2 separate regions of the Homo sapiens genome follow, and region 2 is linked to region 1. Evidence: promoter capture Hi-C in 16 types of primary human blood cells and fetal thymus (Javierre and others, 2016). All regions are on one chromosome and are shown on one strand. The core of a region is centred on a gene start or on the middle of the fragment in contact, and the rest is flanking DNA. Distances in the headings are between cores, read along the strand shown. Region 1 holds the start of ALAS2 (5'-aminolevulinate synthase 2). Region 2 has its middle 30 kb from the start of TRO.

Evidence for each region. Contacts are between HindIII fragments. The CHiCAGO score rates a contact against its expected background, and 5 or more counts as called.
Region 2: a fragment that was not itself captured here is called in contact with the fragment with the promoter of ALAS2 in region 1 in 1 of 17 cell types (M2 macrophages); the score reaches 6.9 in M2 macrophages.

Annotation. Positions count from the first base shown.
Region 1 is chrX:55,029,578-55,032,277 of GRCh38, reverse strand. ALAS2 (5'-aminolevulinate synthase 2) reads left to right here and starts at 1,301. Exons shown (of 11, transcript NM_000032.5): 1 at 1,301-1,336. It also overlaps a transcript of PAGE2B not described here. RefSeq lists an enhancer at 1,296-2,700. The HindIII fragment of the contact is 13,021 bases long and covers 1-2,700 here.
Region 2 is chrX:54,889,171-54,891,870 of GRCh38, reverse strand. No RefSeq gene overlaps it. Among named protein-coding and RNA genes, the nearest start is that of TRO, 30 kb to the left of the region's middle. The HindIII fragment of the contact is 2,103 bases long and covers 386-2,488 here.

The DNA.
Region 1 (2,700 bases), core at 52-2,551:
AATAGATACACATTTACTCTTATACACCACTGGGTGGGGAGGGGTGTATAACACATGTATAGGACAAATTGGCAGTATCAAAAACTTTAAATGTCTATTACCTTTAGATCCAGGAATGCTTATATTTTAGGATGCCACCCTCTAAAAAAATGCTCTCACAAATGCCAAAAGATGTTCATTGCAACATTAATCATAATGGAGGGGGGAAAATCCTTGGGAATAACCTAAATTTATATCAATAAGGGAGTGTTTAAATAAATTACAGTGCATTCAGATTTTGTAACCTCCATGGTATATTGGCATATGGTTGAATGAAAAACAAACAAAAAAAAGAAATTGCAAATCAATATGTAGACTATGGTCTTATTTATGTAAATATAATATTAATGATGACAATCTGCTCTAAAGATGAAATTGTCTGGTTATAACATGGTCCTGCTGCCTTAGGATTGATAAGGGAAGGGGAAAAAGAGAGTGACAAAAGGGGAAGAAAATGAAAAAGGGAGGAGAAGGTAATAGAAAAGATAAGACAGAGAACTTCACATTTTTAATTGTATATTATGAGAGGAAGAGAAGAGTGTGGGTTCTGTAACTACATTGCCTAGGTTCATAGGCGGGCTCTGTACTTTCTAGTTGGGTAATTATCAACAAGTTACCTCACCTCTCTGAGCCTCAGTTTCTTCATCTGTAACATAGGGATAATAGTACCTATCTTTTAAGGTCCTTATGTGGCTAAATTAATTCATGTAAAGCACTTAGTGAAGGGTCTGGTGCATTGTAAGCACTCAGTCAACAGTAGGTGTTATTTATTTGGGCCAGGCACTGTGGTATGCGTTTTCCATACATGATATTACCAAATTGTTACAACAACCGGGGATCTAGTCTGTGGAAGCTGACTGTTTGAGCTCATAAGCACAACACTGTATTCTAGGTCTGACTCCAGAGCCCTCCCAACTTGTGCCACAGTCACTTCTGGGTTTTATTGCCCTCCTTTTATAGTTGAGGAGATCTATAGTCAGAGAGGTGGTTTTGCTCAAGGTATCCCAGCTCTATGTGGATGGTCTGATTCCAAAGCCCAAATGAGCTAATTTTACTGTCCTATAGAGAGAAGAAAATAGGGAAGAGCCAGAGCTGGGGGAGGGGGTACACTAGAGGGAGGGGCTACTTTGGGTTTTATCTCTAGCAAGGAAGGGACTGAGATACCTTTGGGGCCAATGCAGGGCCAGGCCGGCAGAAGGCAGGGTGGGTGGGGCTGAGTCAGAGGAGAAGGGATAAATGCCAGGTCCTAACCCAAGTACCCACCTGTCATTCGTTCGTCCTCAGTGCAGGGCAACAGGTAAGAGCTGCTTTCAGCCTGGCACCCTATCTCTGGTCTGCCAGCTGGTCTCTCAGGGCTGTACACACTGACTCTCTGGTCTGAGTAGATCTGACTTTTTCCTTTGTTTGTTTCTTAGAATCTGTCTCTTTTTCATTTTCTTTTTATCTCCCATGTCTCTTTCTGTCTTTCCTCATTTTCAGCTTTTTTCTCTCTTTTTCCCTTCGTTACTTTCTTTTGTTAGTTTTCAAGATCATTCATTTCATTTCATCATTCTCTGACACTCTTGCTTTCTCTTATTTTTCCCTCTGAATTCTAACTATCTTTTTCTCTAAATTTCTTTCTCTCCCCCTTTTTGTCTCTTTCCTCGGCTTTGTATCTCTCCGTCTCTGTGTTTCTGTCTCTCTCTTCCTCTCTATCAAGAACGATGGCTTAATATTTCTTCCTGCAATTCCCCATTCCTCTCTCCCTTTGACTCCCTCTACCTGCTGGGCTGACAGCAGAGCTCAGTGGGTCAGAGCCCATGGGGAGCCTAGGGGTGGGGGAAGAGCTAGGGAGGGAAACTAAGAGGATGTGGGGGTGATGGGAATGATGAATTGGGTAAGGAGAGATTTGGGGAATTGAGAGATGAATAATTAGCAGAAATAAGTGAAGAAAGTGGAAGAGGAATGTAGTGTCACTATACAGAAAGTAAACAGATTTCTATTCTCATCCTAATTCACTGTGAGACCCTAGGCAAGTCATTCACTCTCTGAAAAAAAGGCTTGGCCTGTAATTTCCACCACCCTTTCTAGTTTTGATTTTGTGATCTTCTAAATTTTCCTGTTTCTAAGAATTTCTGATTCTCTGATTACAGTTATCTAAAGTTCTGTATGATTCTTTCATGGTGGGAAAGGGGTACTAGGAAGAGAAGTAAGGCCTGATGTTTCCAACTCCTGAAGAGAAATTACCACTTCCCTTCCAGACCTAATTGACTTTTGCAAAGCAGGCCACAAAAGGGGTGGGGGGGTGGGGGACAAGGAATGCTGCAATGAGTGTTTTCTGGCTGTCTGCTGGGGTAGAGTTGCAGTTGGCCCTTTTCACCTCTGGGAGTACAGATTGGGTGCTGACACAAGAGAGGATTTTAAAGTCGTAGGGAAAAACTTTCAGTAATGATCTGTTACTTGGTCTCAAATTTCACCATCATCTCTTTGGTTAAAAGTATTGTTTTAAGAAGATGCCTGGCAAGCATTATCACACATTAGGTACATAAGTTATTGAATGGTAGAGTAAATGAATATTCAACAGTACCTGAAATTCCACTGTAGTTACAGATCTGTTCCTTTGGTAAGGCATTGGTGACAAATGGCATATGACCTGGAAAGAGGCCTATGTTAGTGCAGCAG
Region 2 (2,700 bases), core at 188-2,687, 140 kb after region 1:
TGTGAATGGGATTGCGTTCCTGATTTAGCTGTTGGCTAGTTAACCAGCCATACCAATGCCTCAGAACACAAGAATAAGACTCCTACTGCCACCTCGTGGCAGTATACTCTAAAGGGGAGGCTCTCATTAGTTTGGAGTGAAGAAATGCTTTCTCCCTCTATGCCATGCTGTATCATGTCCCTATGTATGTTGTATACTTCTACACATGCCATCTCTTCTAACCAGAACCATCCTTCCCTGAACCTTGTCGATTTAATGGATATTAGGTCTCATTTGTGTGTTATCTCAACCCAAGTAACCATTTCTCTATGAAGCCTTTTCTGTCTCTCCATCTTTCTCAACACAAGTAGAAATAACCTCTTCTTTCTTTGTGTTCCAATAAGCTTAAGTTCCAATAATCCACGTACAGATGTCTACGTGTTACCTAGACCAATTTACTACTGATTTTTTTTCACATACGTCCCTTCTCAAAAACTTAGCTGATCAAACATATGAATCTACGTGTGACTAATCTTAGGGTCTCCAAACTACAAAGCAAAAGGCAGACACAGATTATGAAAGCTCAATGATTGCTCTATGGCATGTTTTATGGATCTATGGAAAAAATGTGTGTATATATTTACATATGTGTGTGTAGATTTACCTATACACACATATATACTCAATTTGTAAATGTTTTAGTCAATTATTTTATGTCATTAATAATTTTTTTACTAGACATGCTCTATTTTGAAATAAGAATTAAAATTGTTAGTATTCCTTTCTTTTTTTTTTTTAACTTTAAGTGCCGGGATACATGTGCAGAACCTGCAGGTTTGTTACATAGGTATACGTGTGCCATGATGGTTTCCTGCACCTATTAACCAGTCATCGAGGTTCCCTCCCCTCGCCTCCCACCCACCAATAGGCCCTGGTGAGTGTTGTTCCCCTTCCTGAGTCCATGTGTTCTCATTGTTCAACTCCCATTTATGAGAGAGAACATAAGGAATTTGGTTTTCTCTTCCTGTGTTGGTTTGCTGAGAATGACGGCTTCCAGCTTCATCCATGTCCCTGCAAAGGACATAATCTCATTTCTTTTTATGGCTGCATAGTATTCCATGGTGTATATGTGGCACATTTTCTTTATACAGTCTATCATTGATGGGCATTTGGGTTGGTTCCAAGCCATTGATTTTTTGAAGGGTTTTTCATGTCTCTCTCTCCTTCAGTTCTGCTCTGATCTTAGTTATTTCTTGTCTTCTGCTAGCTTTGGATTTGTTTGCTCTTGCTCCTCTAGTTCTTTTAGTTGTGATGTTAGGATTTTGATTTGAGATCTTTCGAGCTTTCTGATGTGGGCATTTAGTGCTTTAAATTTCCCTCTTAACACTGCTTTAGCTTCATCCCACAGATTCTGGTATGTTGTCTCTTTGTTCTCAATGGTTTCAAAGAACTTCGTTATTTCTGCATTAATTTCATTATTTACCCAGGAGTCATTCAGAAGCAGGTTGTTCAATTTTCATGTAGTTGTGCGGTTTTGAGTGAATTTCTTAATCTGAGTTCTAATTTGATTGCACTGTGGTCTGAGAGACAGTGTGTTATTATTTCAGTTCTTTTGCAATTGTTGAGGAGTGTTTTTCTTTCAATTATGTGGTTGATTTTAGAATAAGTGCCATGTGGCACTGAAAAGAATGTATATTCTGTTAATTTGGGGTGGAGAATTCTGTAGATATCTATTAGGTCCACTTGATTCAGAGCTGAGTTCATGTCCTGGATATCTTTGTTAATTTTCTGTCTTGTTGATCTGTCTAATATTGACAGTGGGGTGTTAGTCTCCCACTATTATTGTGTGTGAGTCTAAGTCTCTTTGTAGATCTCTAAGAACTTGTTTTATTAATCTTGGTGCTCCTGTATTGGGTGGATATATATTTAGGATAATTAGCTTTTTTTGTTGAATTGACCCCTTTACCATTATGTAATGCCCTTCTCTTTTTTTATCTTTGTTGGTTTCAAGTTTGTTTTATCAGAGACTAGGATTGCAACCCCTGCTTTTTTTTTATTTCCATTTGCTTGGTAAATTTTCCTCCATTCCTTTATTTTGAGCCTATGTGTGTCTTTGCACATCTCCTGAATACAGCACATTGATGGGTCTTGACTCTTTATCCAATTTGCCAATCTGTGTCTTTTAATTGGGGCTTTTAGCTCATGTAAATTTAAGGTTAATATTGTTATGTGTGAGTTTGATCCTGTCATCTTGATGCTATATGGTTATTTTGCACACTAATTGATGCAGTTTCTTCATAGTGTCGTTGGTCTTTATATTTTGGTGTGTTTATTGCTTCTCAGCCTTTTGGCTAAGATCAAGTGTATATTTTGGTGTTTTTTCGCAGTGGCTGGTACTGGTTTTTCCTTTCCATATTTAGTGCTCTTGCAAGGCAGGCCTGGTGGTGATGAAATCCCTCAGTATTTGCTTGTCTGAAAGGGATCCTATTTCTCCTTCACTTATGAAGCTTAGTTTGGCTGGATATGAAATTCTGGGTTGAAAATTCTTTTCTTTAAGAATATTGAATATTGCCCACCCCTCTCTTCTGGCTTGCAGGGTTTCTGCTGAGAGGTCTGCTGTTAGTCTGATCAGCTTCCCTTTGTAAGTGACCTGGACTTTCTCTCTGGCTGCCCTTAATATTTTTTCCTTCATTTCAACCTTGGAGAATTGATTATTATCTG